Linked DNA regions of Homo sapiens: all the other regions are linked to region 1. Evidence: promoter capture Hi-C in human tissues and cell types (Jung and others, 2019). All regions are on one chromosome and are shown on one strand. The core of a region is centred on a gene start or on the middle of the fragment in contact, and the rest is flanking DNA. Distances in the headings are between cores, read along the strand shown. Region 1 holds the start of CTSL (cathepsin L). Region 2 overlaps TUT7 (terminal uridylyl transferase 7). Region 3 has its middle 20 kb from the start of TUT7. Region 4 has its middle 51 kb from the start of TUT7. Region 5 overlaps LOC102724080 (a long non-coding RNA gene). Region 6 overlaps LOC102724080 (a long non-coding RNA gene). Region 7 has its middle 150 kb from the start of LINC02834.

What was found. Contacts are between HindIII fragments. The study calls those that stand out against the background at their distance.
Region 2: a contact is called between a fragment that was not itself captured here and the fragment with the promoter of CTSL in region 1, in 1 of the 25 tissues and cell types used here (dorsolateral prefrontal cortex).
Region 3: a contact is called between a fragment that was not itself captured here and the fragment with the promoter of CTSL in region 1, in 1 of the 25 tissues and cell types used here (mesenchymal stem cells).
Region 4: a contact is called between a fragment that was not itself captured here and the fragment with the promoter of CTSL in region 1, in 2 of the 25 tissues and cell types used here (dorsolateral prefrontal cortex and lymphoblastoid cells).
Region 5: a contact is called between a fragment that was not itself captured here and the fragment with the promoter of CTSL in region 1, in 1 of the 25 tissues and cell types used here (dorsolateral prefrontal cortex).
Region 6: a fragment that was not itself captured here is called in contact with the fragment with the promoter of CTSL in region 1 in 1 of the 25 tissues and cell types used here (lymphoblastoid cells).
Region 7: a contact is called between a fragment that was not itself captured here and the fragment with the promoter of CTSL in region 1, in 1 of the 25 tissues and cell types used here (lymphoblastoid cells).

The regions. Positions count from the first base shown.
Region 1 is chr9:87,724,657-87,727,539 of GRCh38, reverse strand. It overlaps CTSL (cathepsin L), which reads right to left and starts at 1,421. Exons shown (of 8, transcript NM_001912.5): 1 at 1,142-1,421. RefSeq lists promoters at 104-524, 104-1,143, 1,348-1,558, 1,397-1,578, 1-1,578 and 7 more, cis regulatory regions at 525-758, 759-904, 1,480-1,481, 1,504-1,507, 1,518-1,521 and 11 more and an enhancer at 1,109-1,630. The HindIII fragment of the contact is 7,957 bases long and covers 1-2,883 here.
Region 2 is chr9:86,313,305-86,316,187 of GRCh38, reverse strand. The region is part of intron 17 of TUT7 (terminal uridylyl transferase 7); the gene reads left to right. Among named protein-coding and RNA genes, the nearest start is that of ISCA1, 32 kb to the right of the region's middle. The HindIII fragment of the contact is 3,102 bases long and covers 1-2,883 here.
Region 3 is chr9:86,373,022-86,375,904 of GRCh38, reverse strand. It overlaps the pseudogene RPS6P13. Among named protein-coding and RNA genes, the nearest start is that of TUT7, 20 kb to the right of the region's middle. The HindIII fragment of the contact is 5,262 bases long and covers 1-2,883 here.
Region 4 is chr9:86,404,387-86,407,269 of GRCh38, reverse strand. No RefSeq gene overlaps it. Among named protein-coding and RNA genes, the nearest start is that of TUT7, 51 kb to the right of the region's middle. The HindIII fragment of the contact is 7,780 bases long and covers 1-2,883 here.
Region 5 is chr9:86,488,971-86,491,853 of GRCh38, reverse strand. The region is part of intron 1 of LOC102724080 (a long non-coding RNA gene); the gene reads right to left. Among named protein-coding and RNA genes, the nearest start is that of TUT7, 140 kb to the right of the region's middle. The HindIII fragment of the contact is 8,380 bases long and covers 1-2,883 here.
Region 6 is chr9:86,507,878-86,510,760 of GRCh38, reverse strand. The region is part of intron 1 of LOC102724080 (a long non-coding RNA gene); the gene reads right to left. Among named protein-coding and RNA genes, the nearest start is that of TUT7, 150 kb to the right of the region's middle. RefSeq lists an enhancer at 1,996-2,165. The HindIII fragment of the contact is 5,865 bases long and covers 1-2,883 here.
Region 7 is chr9:86,558,947-86,561,829 of GRCh38, reverse strand. No RefSeq gene overlaps it. Among named protein-coding and RNA genes, the nearest start is that of LINC02834, 150 kb to the left of the region's middle. The HindIII fragment of the contact is 5,218 bases long and covers 1-2,883 here.

The DNA of each region.
Region 1 (2,883 bases), core at 172-2,671:
TACTGCCCCCTGAAAAATTAGGGCCACCATGGTAGAATAAAAATATTTAAATTATTCTCCCAAGCATTTACCCAAGGACTGTGGAAGAGGCCAAGGATGTGCCTGGAGAAAAACAGGGCACGTGGAGGTACTGGATGGACTCACCAAAATGAAAAGCAGCCTGTCCAGAGCTGTAGGAGCTGAAACAGTTTATGCGATGACAATTTAGGTTATGAGAACGGTATGAAACTACCTTGTGTGTGAGAAGCTTAAGGCAACAACTAGGAAACCGGGAAACGGTTGATCCAGGTTTTGTACCAATCGCAAAAAATCCAGGTTTCGTGCCCAGGCAAAACCTCACTAATGATAAGGTGGGATTCCCAAGTAGGGACAAAGAGATCCCCAAGAGTTAGGAGGCCTTCACACATCTTCCTGACTAACAAACACCAAAAGCTGAGATAAGTTTTCCAATCTCTCCTATTTATTTATTTATTTATTTATTTATTTATTTATTTATTTTTTGAGATGGAGTCTTGCTCTGTGGCCCAGGCTGGAGTTCAACGGCGCGATATCGGCTCACAGCAACCTCTGCCTCCCGGGTTCAAGCCATTCTTCCTCAGCCTCTTGAATAGCTGGAACTACAGGCGTGCGCCGCCTCGCCCGTCTAATTTTGTATTTTCAGTAGAGACGGGGTTTCACCATGTTGGCCAGGCTGGTCTCGAACTACTGACCTCAGGTGATCCGCCCACCTCAGCCTCCCAAAGTGCTGGGATTACAGGAGTGAGCCACCGCGCCGCCCCAACCTCTCCTTAAATGAAACCTTTCTGAAATGCTTTCCCAGGAAAAACTGGGAAGGAGAGCACGCACTGCTCCCTCCTTCATTCACTTGGGCCTGTGCTGCCGACACCCCAAACTGCTCCCCTAAATCAGGGACGGGGTCATATGGCCGCACGCGGGAAGCCAGCGCCCTGCAGCCAGCTTCCAGGGCTCCAGGCGTGGCAGGGCCGGGGACATGACGCCTGCGCCACACACTGGCTGTAGCGGTCAGAGGATGTTTGCGGTGACGCCAGCAGGAGTACCGCTGTCTGGCGTGCGGGGACTGAGCTTCCCTGTCTGGCCGGGCCAGGCCCTGAGTCGGCGCGGCGCGGCCTGGCTGCGGTACCTGTGTCCACCCGGCTCGGAGGCTGGCCTGCCCGCTCAACCAGTCACGCGCCTCCGCGGGGTCCTCAACTGCCCTCCCCGGCTTCCCCACCTCAAGGCCAGCAGAGTTCGGGGTAGACGCTCTCGTTGCCAGGGCTGGTGCACACCTACTCGACCGCGTCCTCTCTTCCAGTCCCTGTCCGGCCACAGCTGGGCCTGGCCGGCGGCGCTTTCCTGCTGCGGTCGTAGCTGCGCAGGCGCACTCCACGGATGCCGCTCAAGGTTGCGGAGGTCGCGGTTCTGGCCCAGCTTCGCCTGACTCTGCTTCTAAAACCTCGGGTCTGGGTTCGGCCGGCACCGCCCCGCCGCCTGGCTGCGCTGCGATTGGCTGTGCCGGCAGCTGGGCGGGGACTCTGGGTGCTCTGATCCCTGGCGCGGTTCGTGGCTTGTTTACTGACTGTCCCAGAGCTGGGCGTGCCTGCCTCAGTGGACCTGGAGGAAGCAGAGCTGGTGCCCCGGGGCGGCGCAGAGTAGGGTCGGGCGTCTCCCTGGAGCGCTCGAGTCAACTAAGTACACGACTTACTGCACTGGGCGAGTGGCTCCTGAAAAGACGTTTACCGCAAGCCCTGTGTGGACTGTTTCAGCCTAACCTTGCTATTCCTTAGTCCTGGAATTTTTGGTCCGCAGAGCCGAGAGTCAAGTGTACTCTAGTCCAGTGGCTCCTGTTTAGTCCACAGCAAACGTGGGGCCGGGTGGACGAACGCAGAGCCCGCGGGCAGAAGCCTTATCTCCCACTTAAGGGTGGGTGCAGCTGGGCTTTAGAAGAATCTGGTAAGGAAAGGCATCCCCAAAACACGAGATGCTATCGTCAAGACCAGACCCTAGGAGGGAGGAGACTGGCTGCGTCTCCAGAGAGCGCGGGCGTTTTGTCAAGCATCCTTTCCAGACTCCTCCATTCAGGGATTCTTCCTTCTCCCACGTCTTACCCAAAACCAACAGAAATGAGTTATTTACAGAAACATTTGGTTGACAGGAGAAAAGCAGTTGAGAACATTAGAAGCTGCTTTTATTCGCCCACTCTCTAGGCTATGGATTATATCTTCCTTGGTAACCAAGTCGTTCTCTTGAGATTTAAGAAATTTAATGACATTTAATGTCAGGATTTAAGATACAGAGAATGGAGAAATGTTGTAGATAGAGGAAAAATATGTATCTTAATCTGTATAATGTAGATATTAATTTATGTAATTAAGGATTTAAGGAACAAAACCCACAAACATTCTAAACTTTTGTCATTTCATTTTTTATTACATAAAAACATTCATTGTAGAAAATACCTTTCGGGGAAAAAAATAATTACCTCTGCCTTTACCCCATAACCTTTTCGTATGCATATTTTGACTTTGTTAAAAATGAACAAAGTCCATTGATTTCTATTGAAGATTAAACTGATAACTCTTTTAGAAGCACAATCACCTATAGTTTTTTAAGTGGTAAAATATACCTCACATAGCAAGTACCATTTTAACCAACTTTGAGTTCAGTAGCATTAAGTACCTTCACATTGTGTAACCATTACTACTGTTTATTCCCAGAGCTTGTTTATCTTCCTAAACTGAAACTGTATCCATTGAATAATAGTTCCCCATTCCCCCTCTCCTAGCTCAGGTATCTACCATTATATTTCCTGTCTGCAGGAATTTGTTTACTATTTTGGAGATTATTCCTCTTTTTTTTTTTTTGAGACGGAGTCTGGCTCTGTTG
Region 2 (2,883 bases), core at 182-2,681, 1.4 Mb after region 1:
TGGCAGCTATGGATACCATTAACAGTGAAAAATCTTCTTTTAAAATGTAGTTCAGCAAACTTCTGTGCTAAGAGCTGAAAATGAAAGTGAACAATATATGGCCCCTATCCTCAGGAACTTAAAATCCATGGTCTGTCCATGAAAAGTTTTTGTACATTTCGGTTAGGAACAGACTTTAAGTCACAGCATGAACGTGCACACACACCTAGACACACACATATATACACCTTGGGTGCCACTTTTCTTTGAAATTTTTTCCCCAGGAGTTAATAAAGTACATACCATGTTGTTTAAATAACAGGAGGAAAAAAAATCTTAATTTTGGTTTATTCCCAATAAAAATTAACCTAAAGTATACAGAAATTGGGTTAGGCTTTGTTTTTTTAAATGTACATTGATTTGTTCACAGAGGGCAGAACAATATAAAAAAAAAAGAAAAAAAGTGCATTGATATACTTTTCTTTGGTCATTGAAGTAAACATTTCCCTTAACTTGGGAATTCCACCTCTAAAGATCATGTGTTTTGTTTTGTTTTGTTTTGTTTTGAAGGTCGTGCAAAGAAACTGAAGTACTAAGTTAGCGTGACTATTAATTTTTTAGTACTGAGCTAGATTTTAACTTTGTGTTTTGAAATAATTTAATTTCACATTTAAAGGAAAGCAGCAAAAGTTGCATAAAGAGTTCCACATATAACTTTTATTCAGATCCACCAATTAACATTTTCCATATTTGATTCATCATTCCATCTTTTGCTTGCTCTCAATTTCTTCCTGTACCATTTGAGATTAAGCTATAGACATTATGTCCTTTCCCCTAAATACCTCAGTATATATTTCCTAAGAAGGAACGATGTTAAAAACAGATCATTTTTAGATTAGAAATGACTTAGGCACACAGATGATTTATAATAATAATGGAATGCAGATTGCCTGGAACAAGAATTTCGTAACAGCTAGAGGGCTGTGTTTAAAACTTCATATCTTTAAAACAGTCTCCCCAGGTATTTTATTGGGTGCCTCCTATGTGCACAGCACTGTGTTGGGCACTTAGGGATGGTGGAAAAGTAAAAAAATCTGTATGTTTTTTTTGTGAAAGCTTCCATATCTTAAGAGGTAAGGTAATCTTCCAAACTATGTAACAATGTAAGGTAATATTCAATTAAATAACTTCTAAGAAGAGAGAATGTGGGAAAGAGTTGCACAGGGGAGGTTGATGGAAGAGATGGAGGTTGCTATGATCTCAGATGATGGTGAACACGATTTGAAAAGGATGGGAAAAGAAATCATTTCTAAGTGCATAGATGTGAATGTGAGACTGTGGGATATTTTGGAGAGCAGTGAGAAGATTGGTACATTTGGAGATTTTCAAATGGGAAATACTAGGAGATAAGATGAAGTCTATAGATATTTGGAAGCACTGAAGTTTCTTCAGGAGGGAAAGGACCCAATAAAAGCATAACATAAGGTTTTTAGGCAGCTGGTGTGGTATTTTAGGGAAGGTATAATGTAGACAACAGGGCAGCAGGACCTCAGCCAGGGTGCCACTGGTGCTAACAGGAAAAAGATATGAGAGATTCCAAGTGGGAAAATTTCCTAGATTTGGTACCTGCAAGTAGGAAGTAAGGATTGAGGTCACTATCTGGGTTATTTGAGAACCAGGAATGTTTGCAGAGAACACCTGTGTGAAAGTGTTTAGTTTGCCATGAGCATATAATCTCCAAGACTTAACATTCCAGAAAACAATTAGAAATATGGGGTTGCCAGTCAGAATTGAAGATGAAAATAAAACAGTTTTTTTGCATTGAAAGCCTTGAAGAAAAAGAGAGAGATTGAGAGAAAGAGACTAGACAGAAATTAAGAAAAGAGACTGAAAAGGAACTGGGAAGATATGCTGTGAATAAATCCGAGACTTTGAAGTGTGGTAATGATCAACAGTGTCAAATTCCAGAATGGGAAGGATGTGAAGAAAAGGGCCTCTGTCTAATTTAGAGGCGAGATAGCAAAGTACTAGGTGGAGGTTCTGGAATCAGACTCTGATTTTAAATTCTGTCTCCCCCTTGCTGGCTGTGCAATCCCAAAAAGTCACTCAGCTTCATAACAAGCACTCAGTTCCTCATCTCTAAAGTGGAAATAACAATTCTATGGCATTTAAGAAAGATAATACGTAAAGTGCAAAGCCTAGCATATTCTAAGTATTCAGTAAAGTGAGCTTCCTTGCCCCCTTTCCCCATCAGATTAAGTTTCATTTCCTCTGTCTGCCACACAGATTTTTTCCTGAAATGTCTTCTACCTACTTATTTTCTCCTGTGTTCTATGATGTGATCACTATGTATCTGCTTTTTAGGAACCACCACTTAGCTCTCTCAGAAGAAACTCAAACTCTGACATCTCAGAATGAGCTTATCTTTCACTTTACCGCTTCCCTTCTGCAGGAACCAACTCCATTAATCTGCCCTTCCTTGTGAATCCTTTTTCATGGTTGTTGATATTGGCATCCTTGGAATCAATAAAACGGGTGAAATGATAATTAGCCTGACCCACACTAGGTTCAGTATAAGTTGGGAGTCAATCTTACCTAGATTTGAATTCCGGCTCCACAATTTACCAGCTGCATATTCCTAAGCTAGTGAATCTTTCTGGGTCTCTGTTTCCTCATCTGTAAGATGAGGGTGATAAACCTAAGGAGGTAATGTTTGTAAAGGACTCTTCACATATCCCTATCACACATTAGGTGCTCAGGAAGTGGTAACTCTTACTCTGAAAGCCCTGATCCTCTCTTACTACCCCTAGCTTCCCATCCAGTTACAGATGCTCTCAAACATGCCTTGCTTCTTCTGTGTATTCCCATGCCACCATGAAAGTTCACACCCAGTTGTTTTTCATA
Region 3 (2,883 bases), core at 129-2,628, 1.4 Mb after region 1:
AAAACTAGGCATCAATAACAAGGGGAACATTTAAAATTATACAAATATACGAAAATTAAGCCACATGCTCCCTAATGGCCAATGGGTCAAAGAAGAAATTAAGCAGGAAATCAAAAAAATTCCTTGAAGCAAATAAAACTAGAAACACAACATATCACTCTTTTCCATGGCTCCGCGGAGGCATTCAGCTACTTCAAGATGAAGCTGAGCATCTCCTTCCCAGCCACTGACAGCCGGAAACTCATTGAAGAGGAACTCAAACTTCGTACTTTTTATGAGAAGCCTATGGCCACAGAAGTAGCTGCTGATTCTCTGGGTGAAGAATGGAAGGATTATGTGGCCCAAATCAGTGGTGAGAACTACAAACAAGGTTTCCCCATGAAGAAGGGTGTCATGACCCATGGCCGTGTCCGCCTGCTACTGAGTAAGGTCCTCTTACAGACCAAGGAGAACTGGAGAAAGAAAGAAAGAAAATCAGTTTGTGATTGCATTGTGGATGCCAATCTTAGCATTCTCAACTTGGTTATTGTAAAAAAGGGAGAGAAAGATATTCCTGGACAGACTGATACTACGGTGCCTCATTGCCTGGGGCTCCAAAGAGCTAGCAGAATCCTCAAACTTTTCAATCTCTCTAAAGAAAATGATGTCCACCAGTATGTTGTAAGAAAGCCCTTAAACAAAGAAGGTAAGAAACCTAGGACCAAAGCACCCAAGATTCAGCATCTTGTTACTCCACATGTCCTGCAGCACAATCGGCGGTGTATTGCTCTGAAGAAGCAGCGTACTAAGAAAAATAAGGAAGAGGCTGCAGAATACACTAAACTTTTGGCCAAGAGCATGAAGGAGGCTAAAGAGAAGCCCCAGAAACAAATTGCCAAGAGATGCAGACTTTCCTCTCTGTGAGTTTCTGCTTCCAAGCCTGAATCCAGTCAGAAATAAGATTTTTTGAGTAACAAATAAGATCAGACTCACATCTCTCTTGACTTTTCATTGATGATAGACAACTACATAAATGAAGAGAGGGAAACTTAGGTCATAGAAAATGGGGATATGTATATAGTAATCCAGTCATGGATAAAATCAGACTGACTATTGTGTGGTAGAAGAAGACAAGATCATAATAAAGGGATTCTTTTGGGTGGATGGGTGGTGCAGGAAGGGATTCTGAGCATAAGACATCTGCCTCTTCAGAAAGGCATGGAACTTAGGGGAAATAAATGAAGAGGACTTTTAATCTTTTTTATATAGTTTATTTTGAGGAATATAGCTCTTTAAAACACTATACACAGTTTAATACATGAAAATTGCCCTTGGGAAGATTAACAGTGTTTTTTTAGAAAAGCTAACTTTTAAGGCATAGTTTCAGTGGATAGCATCTTAAAATACTTCAGGAAGTTTTGTAAACCAGTGCAAATTTGCTTTAACAAAGCTTTTCAACTCAAAAACAAAAGAAAGAAAGAAAGAGAGAAAGAGAAAGAAAGAAAGGCAATGTATCAAAATTTGGCTGCATGCAGTGACTCATGCCTGTAATCCCAGCACTTTGGGAGGCTGAGGCAGGTGGATCACGAGGTTAGGAGTTCAAGACCAGCCTGGCCAACATGGTGAAACCCCCATCTCTACCAAAAATACAAAAAAAAAAAATTAGCCAGGTGTGGTGGCAGACACCTGTAATCCCAGCTACTTGGGAGGCTAAGGCAGGAGAATTGCTTGAACCTGGGAGGTGGAGGTTGCAGTAAGCCAAGATCATGCCACTGCACTCTAGCCTGGGTGACAGAGCAAGACTCCATCTCAAAACAAACAAAACAAAACAAAACAAAAAACAAAAAAAAATCTTATGGGACACAACAAAAGCAGTATTAAGAGGCAAGTTTATAGCAATAATGCCTACATCTAAAAACTAGAAAGATTTCTAAGATTTCTAATAACGTAATGGCACCTCAAGGAACTAGAAAAGCAAGAACTCAAAATTAGTAGAAGGAAAGAAATAACCAAACCCAAAATTAGTAGAAGGAAAGAAATAATAAGAACAGAGCAGAAATAAACAAAATGGAGACTTAAAAAAAAACACAAAAGATAAATGAAACAAAAATTTGGTTTTTGAAAAGATAAACAAAATAAAAAAACCATTAGCTAGACTAAGAAAAAAAGAGAGAAGATCCAAATAAATAAAATCAAAAGCCAGAAATGAAGATATCACAATGGATACCATAGAAATATAAAGACTCATTAGTGACAACTATGCACAATGATGTGCCAATAAATGAGAAAGCCTGGAGGAAATGGATAAATTCCTGGACACATGCAACCTACTGAGAAGAAATAGAAAACCTGAACAAATCAATAACAAGTGATGAGATTGAATCACTAATAAAAAGTGCTTCAACAAAGAAAAGTCCAGGACCAGATGGCTTCACTGCTGAGTTCTACCAAACCTTTAAAGAATTTTTTTTTTGAAACAGAGTCTTGCTCTGTTGCCCAGGCCTGAGTGCAATGGTGTGATCCCAGCTCACTACAATCTGCCTCTCAGATTCAAGTGATTCTCCTGTCTCAGCTTCCCGAGTAGCTGGGACTACAGACGCATGCCACCACACCCAGCTTATTTTTGTATTTTTGGTAGAGATGGGGTTTTGCCATGTTGGCCAGCCTGGTCTCGAATTCCTGACCTCAGGTGATCCACCCTCCTCAGCTTCCCAAAGTGCTAGGATTACAGGTGTGAGCCACTGCACCCGGCCAAATCTTTAAATGATTAATACCAATTTTTCTCATACTTCAAAATGTTGAAGCAGAGAGAATTCTTCTTAACTCATTCTATGAGGCCAGCATGACTCCAGTTCCAGAATCAACACAATAAACAAAGAAAACTACAGGCCAGTGTCTCTGATG
Region 4 (2,883 bases), core at 192-2,691, 1.3 Mb after region 1:
CTCCACCCCCTCTGCCCGTGACCAGGAATGAGTCAGAAGGACCTTGTAGAAGGGACCTGTCTGAATCTGGTTTCAGGGGAGAAAGTAGAAGGCTGCCCTCAGGCCTGCCAACTAAAAGTCCATATCGCAGCTTCACGAGAGCTGGCCTGGAAGCAGGGCTTAACTAGGTCAAAAATGGGACTTTGATTCCCATCTGGATGTCAGTTTCTTGAGGTGCTTCTCCTCTGGCAGAAAAGGGGGCAGAAATGAGAGGGTAAAGGAGAATGGTCTTATTCCCCTAAAATCACCATGAAATGGTCTTTTAAAAATAAGAAAAGTAGGACACATGTTCTAAAGAAAAAAAATTTTTTCAACTGAACACATTTAGCTTTATACAAAGCTCACCTTGTTTCTTTGTCTCTCATTTTGTCCAAATTGTTAATTTCATAATTATCACTAGTCCATGAACCTGCATTTGAGAAATCTTTGAGAAGCATTCCTCTGAAGTACGTTTTTGCTCTCAAAGTCTGTGACATAAATAACTATCACTTCTGCTTCCATCACCCCTCCCAGAACCCGTCATTGAAAGAAGACTAGAGCAGAAACTACGGTTTAGTGCCTTACAGAATGCTTTGTACAAATAAATACTCAACAAATTTTTAAAATACAGCCTGCCCCCTGTGTCGGGGTGACTCAGGAACCCATCTGACCTAAAGTTCCATCTGTTTTTCTGAATCCAGAGTCCAGACACTCACGTGCAGATGAAAAAAAGTATCAGGAGTGGCACATTCCTGAGCCACACTGCACCAAAGATGATTTCACAATAGGTACCAGGTTTACTTTTGTTTCATGAGTCTGCCTGCAAATTCAAGTTTCTCTGGTTCATCTCCTTTGCATTAGTATGTGTTAATTAAAGTGAAATTAGCACGTCTTCCTGAAGCTCTGGCCCTCATTGTATACACACCAGGACTAACATTAAGCTACCTTCACTTCGTGCTCTCTAGGCATTGGGGTTCTTCAGGGCTCATATTTTTTTCTCTGAGAATTATTAGCTCATTCTGCCTACCATGTTCCCCAGCAGAGAGGGAGGAAGAGAACGCTCTGTGTCCCCCACCCCCACACAAAAAGCCATTCTTTTCTTTGCAAGCAACTGGTACATGTTTTCAGCTGACATGTCCTAGATTGTTCTAAAAAGAGCAGCGGCAAGATAAATTGCAAGAACAGATGATTCAAAGACTCCCTGGGAAGTACCACAGCCAGCTCATAATTACAAATGCAGGGTAGGCGGAACATCTGTATCCTGAGTCACTCTGCTTTTCTAGAAGGGAGAATGTCATTAGCCCTCCTGCTGCAGGAACTTTTGAGATCTGTAAGCAGGTTCCAGAACTGGTTCACGGTGTGCTCTGTCCTCTTGAGGCTGCAAGTGACCCTCTCCCCACCCCCGTACAAATTTAACATACCTTGAAGTCATTATAATTAATTACCAGCTGACTATAGCCCAGAGAGCTTCTAAGTCTATATTTTGAATAATAACTCTGCAAAGGTAATGTGCATGTGTTTTGGGGGGAGAACGATAACCTTAAAAATCTTATAAGTGTTTCTGAGCTTGGTTCTCTAATGCCTGGAATGATACAAATTTAGGGGCATTGCCTTTTATGGGAAGAGATACTAGGAAAAAGTAAAAGGAGAAATGGGTTTTTCTGGAAAACTATAAGAACAATTATCTTAAATGAGAGATAGTTGAGGCTCTGGGGTTAATGAATAAAAAAAGATGATGGCAAAAGAAACATAAGACATTGATGAGTGAAAACAAGAGCTAATAGTTTTGGCAGAGCCAAGTTTACCAGTGTGTTGGCAGGAGTTACTGTTCCTTCTTGTGTGATTTCTTTGAGGACATTGCACTGTTTATACAGAGAGTGTAAACATAGCTGTTGATTTAACTAAACACTGTTTTTTGTTCCCCGTCTCTCACAGCCATGGTAAATAGCCTAATATTTAAGCTCAGAGGCTTTGATGTGAGTTAAGGTAAGATTCAGTTGTGCTGGTCATAGCTGTGCGCCTTAGAACAAACTTCCTACCCTCTCTGAGTCCAGTTTCAAGATTGCTACAGGAATCACAATCCTATCTGTCTCAAAAAGCAGTTTTAAGGATATAATGAGGCAATGTGTATAACCACCAGAGTATAATTTCTGGGACACAGCAAATCCTTAATGAATGTTGGGGTGAAGTGGGGTGGCACTTTGCTGTTGTCAATTTATCTAAATAAAGTCCCCACTTACAAACACCTAGTATAGAATAAAACTAACGGTCTCCAGGGTCAGCGCTAAAACCTCAGACTCTGAACAGTATCACACAAAATGCTTGCATAAGGTAGCTTTTCACAAAGAAATGCGACGAACCCTGGAAGAAAAACTGAGGATAACAGAAATGTCCACTTAGGACATTTAGACAGACCCACTCAAGTGTTTGTGAAGGGAAGATGGCACATTACCATCAGGTCTTTCTGAGCTGGCCGCAGGTCCTATCCGGGGATTCTAGAAATTAAAATGGCCTGACATGAGTCTGATTTTGCCCAAGCATCCTCACAGGACCTCTTGAGAATGTAATCATTCTACTACTTTGTCTGAGGGTAGAAACAGGGAAACAAGGGAAAGCTGGAAAGTGATTGTAGGAAGGCCCCGTAATGGGACCATGGTAGGAGGAATGTGTCTCAGGAAAGGTGAGAAAGTTATTCTCACTTCCTCTCATCATTCTCTTCATCAACCTCTCCTCAGACGGCATGGGCTAGGGCACTGGACATCCTCCAAACTTGATCAGTTATATGATATCACTCTAATATAACATAATGTTCTTAGTCTATTTTGGCTTTTATAACAAAATACCATAAACTGGTTGGCTTATAAA
Region 5 (2,883 bases), core at 209-2,708, 1.2 Mb after region 1:
ACAGCCATTTAAAAAACTATTCCATCAAAATACAAAAATTAAAACGATGAAGAAGTCATCTTTGTTTGGGAACTTAAAGGATCAAGATATAATCCTTGATCTGCCCAATAAAGATGAAAATTGAGGGAGTCGGGACATGGAAGGGAAAGTAATTTGTCTTGGTTACGAGACTGTGTAGGGAGGAGGAAGGAAGGGTCTCCTTTTCAATGGAGGATCACTTGTTTGCACAGTTGCATTGTGAAAACAACTGAGAATGCCTCAGTAGTCTAATTCTGTCATTCACAAAGAGGAGTTCACTGTGGCTTATCTAATAGCCCACCTGTCCTAGGCTTACAGCCAGTCTAGCCCAAGCTGGGCATTATCAGGAACCTCTAGGTATTAGCAAAGAACCTGCTCTGACATGCCCAGCCTAGCAGGCTTGGTGTGACAGAAGATGCAGAAGGAAGAAAGATTCTTCCTCCTCCAAGTTTTCCATTGGTTATAACTATAAGATAAGGAACCCCGCAGGCTTGGTGCACTCCATTCTATCTGAGAGAGAGCTGACAGGGTGCTTTTCAAGTCCTTGAAAACAACAAAACATTTTCTGTAACTCCTCACTAAACAATGTCTGGGCCTGATGAAAGGGAAGAAATGTTCTGCAGCTGTACTGCTCTGAGGGTTCCCAATCATCAGGTCAAGGTCAAATGCAGAAATCTCTGTCTGGTCTAACAGAACCCTAAGATGGCTGCCTCCACCACACTCCTCTCCCCGGAATCCTAGTTGGCGTGGAAGGAGGATAGCTGTTGGGAATTTCCTCTTCCCAGCTCCCTTGAAGGGTGCCCCACCTATACATAGGTGTGTGGTCAGCTTCACAGAAATGAAAAGTGGTTATTCCTCACACAAGGGTTGGGAGTAATTACTTCTAAGGAAATATAATACTCAAGAAAAAGAGGCACTCAGATGAGAACGGTGCCTAACCCCTGACCTCTGTGGGGAGCTGCATGGCTACAGTGATGCAGTAGTGCAGGGTGACCAGGCACATATGATGGGACACCTGTCCTAATTCATTCATTGAGCAAACACTTATTAAGCATCTGCCATATGCCTGGCATCACCAATGCTCAATTTTTCTCACCAAACCTTTTGAGAAGCTGATTCTCAAGTGTGAAGTAATAACAAAGAAAAAGACAGGAAGGGCCCAAAGTTGTACAAGTTGCAAGTCGTGACTGCACAAGAGGACCCAACCAGGCAAGTGACTGGGGACTAAAATCCAACCCACGCTCCTGTTGCTAATGTAGCTACCCATACAGAGGGCTGCATTCATGCAAGGGATGCACCTTTTCCTAATGTGCAAAAAATACTGTCTAGTCCAACAGAGACTCTGTGCAGAAGATATGGCATATGGTCAGACGCCTGCAGGCTGCAGTTGCCCATTATCAACTCTTTCCCTAAGAATAGATGAATGAATTTGTCGTTGCCTCATTTTCCTGATCTGTAAAACAGAGTCAATAGTGTTTGTGCTTGCCTTACACCTTGAGACAGTCATTATGAGGTGCAGACTGCGCTCATCAGAAAGAAGATTCTTGGCTGGAGCAGTGGCTCATGCCTGTAATCCCAGCACTTTGGGAGGCTGAGGTGGGCAGATCACTTGAGCTCAGGAGTTTGAGACCAGCCTGGCCAACATAGCGAAACCCCGTCTCTACTAAAAATACAAAAATCAGCTGGGCTTGATGGCGCACTCCTGTAATCCCAGCTGTCTGGGTGTCTGAGGCAGGAGAGTCACTTGAACCCAGAAGGTGGAGGCTGCAGTGAGCCGAGATGGTGCCACTGCACTCCAGCCTGGTGACAGAGTGAGACCCTGTCTCAAAAAAAAAAAAAGAAAAAAGAAAGAAAGAAGATTCTCAAATAATATAATTATATTAAATAATATATAATAACAAATTACATTCAATAATAGAATACATTTTCTTGCGTTCTTCCAAGAGGGTACTATTTATTAGCTATGGATCATCCTATGGTTAGAAAATAAACCCTACTTTGTAGTCCCTGCCAAGGAAAATTAGTGGAAACTCTTATTTTACCAGGCAAGCAATGGTCCTGAAAAGATCTTAGCAAGGCACTAGCTACACAGCTTAATGCCTATTCAGGGATCCAACTAAAACTTCAGTTCTTCACCAACCATACTCTCAAATGTTTTATGGAAACAGAGGTCACAAATAAGGTTACCAGCCAACTTTTGGAAGGAGATGGAGAAGGGACTTTCGTTCCTTGAGGGCAGACAATGTGTTTTTCTCATCCTTGAATTTCAGGACCCAAACTGAAATGTGGGAGCTCAATCAATGTCTGTTGACATTTGTGTTGCGTGGTCAACATGTGCTTCCAAGTATCTGATCACTTCAACGGAGAGATGTGGACTCAGACATTGGATTAGGAGAGCCCTAAATAATTCATACAAAATAATCTAATTTGGTTAGGCCTGCAGAAAAGGAACTTCAAGTCCCATGTTTAGAAACTTCTTTGTATCTAACCTAAATCTTGCATGTTCCTCTAGTTCTAGCATTAAAGGAGTAAAAAACAAAAATGCTATGAAATCATGACTCTGATTCTGCTTATCCAGGCTATGTATATGGTCTCAGTCCATTTTCTGTTGCTTATAACAAGATAACTGAAACTGGATAATTTTTGAAGAAAAAGAATTTATTTCTTAGTTATAGAGGCTGAGAAATCCAAGGTTGACGGGTCTCATCAGGAGAGAGCCTCTCTGCTGATGGTGAAGCAGGATATTTCCCTGACCCCTTCACAGCACTCAAAAGGGGATGCCTCATTCACTCAGCCTGCAGCTCTCAACTCCTCACGGGAGAGGGCACATGAGAGAGAGGCCAGCAGGGGCGAACTCCACTCACT
Region 6 (2,883 bases), core at 192-2,691, 1.2 Mb after region 1:
TGATATGTGTAATGTAGGGATCAGATCAGAATAATTCACATATCCATCATCTCAAACTTTTATCATTTCTTTGTGTTGGGAACATTCAAAATCCTCCTAGCTATTTGGAACTATATCATATTTTACTGTTAACCATAGTCACCCTACAGAGCTGAGGAACACCAGAACCTATCCCTCCTGTCTAGCTATAAGTTTGTATCCTTTTAAAAACCCACTGGAGTATTAAAAATGTCTCACAAGAACCACATTTTTAGGGATGCATTAGCTTACTTTGGCTGCTTTTTAAAAGATTCAAACACATGAAGTTTTTTAAAAATAAACTTCTCTAGAAACCATTTTGACTTAAATGACTATCAGTAGGGAGCTAGTTACATAAATTGTGGTACACCCAGGGCATATGAGTGAGCGTATGTACAGTCACACACACGCATGCACACAGAATGCAATTCTAGATATATTTTAAATTTTTTTAGACAGTGTCGAATAGAACTTACGATAGTTTAATATTTATGTTTTAAAAAGAGATACATATTATACATGATAAAAATGAAAGAATACTACAAATTTGTATATGTAATAAAAGAGGTATTTTATATATGTATGTGTAATATAGTATATACACAAACTATCTCTGGAAAAAACTAGTAACAGTAGTTTCTTCCAGAAAGATATACTAGGAAAATTAGACTAATGGTTGTAGGCAAAAATCTAAGAATTAATGTATATTTTCTTTGGGGTTGTTTAATATTTTTTATTAAAAGAATGCATCACTGTTCTAATTTTTAAAATTTGTGTCACTCTAGTATGTGTTGTTATGTGATTGGCATCCTATAGTATTTTAATTTTTTTTTTTTTTTTTTTTTTTTTGAGACAGAGTCTTGCTCTGTCGCCCAGGCTGGAGTGCAATGGCGTGATCTTGGCTCACTGCAGCCTCTGCCTCCCAGGTTCCAGGGATTCTCTTGCCTCAGCCTCCCAGGTAGCTGGGATTATAGGCGCACACCACCACGCCCGGCTAATTTTTGTATTTTTAGTAGAGACAGGGTTTCACCATGTTGGCCAGGCTGGTCTCAAACTCCTGACCTCAGGTGATCCGCCTGCCGCGGCCTCCCAAAGTGCTGGAATTACAGGCATGAGCCACTGCCCCTGGCCAGTATTTGATCTTTAAAACATAGATGTTTTACAGTGTATACTGTTAAGGAAAATGCCAACTACTAGAAAGTAAACTGGTGTCATTGTATTTTTAAATTGCCTGCCTACTACAGGATGAATAGATTGCAAAATAACACCCAAAATGTGTTCAAGTGAGTTACAAAACTTGCTTTGGCACAAAAAGATACAGACACCCATTGGTGAATAGGTAATATATGTGTCCCCTGTTGTAATGAGAGTACACTTAGGGAATTACTTTATACGCCTTCCCTGGAATTAGTCTCCTGGTGGATAAGAAAAAGGCCTTATTCATCTAATTCCCCCCAAAATTCTAGCTCAATACCTGGCAAATATTAATAGAAGGTGTTCAAAAAATATTTATCAAATAAATAAATTAGATTCACAGCTTGATTTCTTGTCTTTTATAACCAGTTTCTTTGATGTTGAACTTTTTAAAACCTTTAATAAATAATTGCACATCATAAATTGGATGAGGTAAATATAATACACAGCATTTGCCAAACTTGTTTCACCATGAAAAGAAAAACACTTTCCCCACAGAGTCCCTTGCAAGACTAGTTGTAATGAAGCCTAGATAAATAAAAGTGGAAAACATAGCGCTGGCTTTTAATTTACACCTCTCTGTCTCCTAAAAACCAAGGGCAGCAGAGGCCATTAGTGCTCACTGAATATTCCTGGGCTCCCTGCATTTCCCATACTTCTTTATTTTGGGGTCTGGGGCACATGACTGTATCTGGCAAACAGGAATATGAGAGGAATTGATGTACCATTTCCATTGCAAGGCCCTTGGGAGCCAGTGTGTCTCCTTCATCTTTCTTATCTCTTGCTAGAACCACTCTGAAAGTCAAGTGTGGAGATGATGGCCTCACAAGTTAAAGGGAATCCCCAACCACTAGATATGGAAACCCCCTGTCAATTCACATGAGAGTCTGTAGTGAGCAAAGAATATATATTTTGTTGTGCTAAGCCGCCGAGATTTTAGAGTTATTTGTTATGACAACATAATTTAGCCTAACCTGACTAAGCATAGCAATTCATTGTCATGGCATATCCTCATACGACAATTATATAGTGAATGCCTACTACGTGTCAGACGTGATCTTTGAGGTACCTTCTAAAAGTATATTTATAAAGTATGAAAAGAGAAATAAAATATGTACAAGGAAAGTGAAGGGATGAACAGCCTGTCACTCAAATCCTGTAACTTGATGCTTTTCATCTTTGCAAGTCTAGTAATTTCAGAAGAATTTGTCAAATTTTTACATATAAAAATGCAAATTTCCCCCAAATTAACTAGTGTTTTACTGTGTCTGAATTACTCTGTACTTTCCTAAAGACTCATCGCTTTTTCTGTAAGATTAGGAAGAGGTAGGTCCAGAAACATTTCTGTTCTCCTGTTATATCTATACAGGATTCTTAGATTTTTTTTAAAAAAAACTACAAATCCAAAGGGATGAGCTGCAACTGGCCTAATATTTATCAGAAGTTACCACCAGACCTTTTTAGTCAATGCTCTTGTGCCTTTGCCATGGTTAGGCAGTATCTATGTGAATTTTCTGGATTAGGGCTACTTAGTAGATCAGAGCCCTTAACAGAGCTATACTCTCTAATGGAAGAAATAGTCTCAAGATGAAATTCGATTACAGCGATGCACTTTGATTCAATATCTATAACTTCCTTGTGATATGGTAAATTAGGGGGGAAGAAAAATGC
Region 7 (2,883 bases), core at 197-2,696, 1.2 Mb after region 1:
AATATTGTAATGGAAGCAACTTCCTTTTTTAAATTCCCATTGAAAGCTGAAGTCTCTCGACATGTTTTGGACAATAAAGTATATTGGTCGGGCACAGTGGCTCACACCTGTAATCTCAGCACTTTGGAAGGCCGAGGAGGTCAGATCACCTGAGGTCGGGAGTTCGAGACCAGCCTGACCAACATGGAGAAACCTCGTCTTTACTAAAAATACAAAATTAGCAGGGCATGGTGGCACATGCCTGTAATCCCAGCTACTCAGGAAGGCTGAGGCAGGAGAATCGCTTGAACCCGGGAGATGGAGTTTGTGGTGAGCCGAGATAGCGCCATTGCACTCCAGCCTGGGCAACAAGAGTGAAACTCCATTTCAAAAAAAAAAAGAGAGAGAGAAAGAAAGAAAAGAAAATACATTATATGAGGCAGGACAAAAGTTATTACCATGAAAGTTTCCACCATCTTTCCTCACTTCTCCTGCAGAACCAAAAGGGAGAGAAAGAGGAGTAGTTTGTTTGTAAAATGATTCTGTTGTGTACATTAACTTCTTAGGGAAATGTGTTGAAACTTAATATATCTTTGCATGAAACTGTACACTAGTGAGCTTTAAAAATCTAACCTATACATGCTGAGGTTTGCCAGTTTATGATAAGCTGACAGAAGTATAAGAACATAGGAAACCACTGATGTGGAGGTTAAGAGGACCATTGTCTTTTCTGTGGTGGTTTCATCCATGGGATTGAGCCGATAAGGAAAGCACCTAATTTCTCATTTATTTGTGGCTGTTCTATACAAACCAACTTCTTTTCCATCCTACTGAACAAACCAAGAAGAAAGAACAGTGAGATAGTGAATACTGCCTGTCCTATGCTCAGAGGATCCCAGAAAGTTTGGCTAGATCAGACCCTGAGGCACAATATCTGCTACCCTTCAATGTAACCTCTCAACACCAACTCCTTTGTGTTATCAAAAAATTGCTTTGTATTATCAAAAGAATGTAGTAACAGTGTCTTCTCATTATCACAGGCTGTCTCTGCTTTATACCAGCCTTTCAAAAACTTCTGCCTTAGGTTTAAACTCAATAAGACTTGGGGGAGCACAAATAATTTGCCAAAATTCTTCTAGTGACTCAGTCGGGCCATTTACTTTGTTTTCTTCTGTTCTTTAACGAAAGTCCACTGAGATTTTCATTGAACTTGGGATAGTTGGAGAGGAATTTTGACCAAAATGAACTGGCTGATTTGGATGCCATGGCGACCAAGGAGGTTGGCATCCCAAGGAAGTGCCAAGGTTGAATGTGGAGGTCATCCTAACCGCTGAGGTGTTTCATGTTTCACCTCGGGCATCTTACAATTCTTCACTGCAACTCTTTCTTATAGAATTTCCTTGCCTTTTACTCAAATAAGCGCATCAAGGTTCATCCTTCCCTGCTCCTTTTTGAAAATAGACTAAAGAAAGAGGGCTTGCTTTTTCAGCCCCTACAGACTTACGGCAGTCACCCAATCCTCTGTCGTCACTATGGCTTAAGTCTGGGCTATGGGAAACTCAGGGCACTGCACTGCTTATACTGACAGTCAGCAAAACACACAGCTTCCTTCTGTCTGTATTTTCTATATTTTACTATCGATATACTCCACGGGTTCGATGAGATTGCCATTCTTCTTGCTTTTTAAGTGTTGTCTTCTCCCTCACACAGACACGATCATCTCTTCACATGTGCATAGTTGTCACATGCATGACAGTGATGTGACACAGCAAAGGACACAGCGCAGGAGAGACCAAGAGCTGCTCAGAGCAGGGACCGCAGCAGCTTCCCCGCCGGTAAAGGAAGCTGCCCTGGTTTTCAAGCCCTTAAGAAGCTATGCCCTTGCCAGAATCATCATCACCCCCACATCAGGGTAAGGACTGGTTAGGCTGTGTGAGAGGTTCACCTTCCTCATTCTCGACAGAGGGACTGTACTCTCCTGGCCCTTGGCTGTATTTACTTTGTGTTATTAGATGTTTATGGCATCTGGCAACTGGCAGCAGAATTGACTACTCTAAAGGGGAAGGCTTGCTGGAGGGAGGACTGATGCTTTAAGTGGCCAATTCATTAATGAATATTTTTATCTTATGGCGGTTCCCTTGACAACCTCATATCTGCAGAGACACCAGTAAAAAATAACTGGGTAATAGGCTGGGCACAGTGGCTCACGCCTGTAATCTTATCATTTTGGGAAACCGAGGTAGGAGGACCACTTGAGCCCACGAGTTTGAGACCAGCCTGAGCAACAAAGTAAGACTCCCGTCTCTACAAAACAAAAAAAATTAATTGGCCCAGCATGGTGGCTGGCTTATCCCTGTTGCCCCAGCTACTCAGGAGGCTAAGGCGGGAGGATCACTAGAGCCCAGGAGTTCACTGATGCAAGTGAGCTATGATACTTCCACTGCACTCCAGCCTGGGTGACAGAGCGAGACATTGTCTCAAAAACAAAAACAAAGACAAACTGGATAATTCAGGACTCCCCACAATCTAGAAAAGTGTTGATTGATTGACATTAGTAGGCCATAAATGTGCCAATGCTCTTTGGCCTCTAGCAGCAACTGTACCGCAGTACCACACAGTATCACTGTATCACAGTACCACACAGTACCACTGTACCACAGTACCACACACTACCGCTGTACCATAGTACCACACAGTACCACTGTACCACAGTACCACACAGTACCACTGTACCATAGTACCACACAGTACCACTGTACCACAGTACCACACAGTACCACTGTACCATAGTACCACACAGTACCACTGTACCACAGTACCACACAGTACCGCTGTACCATAGTACCACACAGTACCACTGTACCACAGTACCATGTGGTAGTCCCTTGAGAGAGAAATATGTCT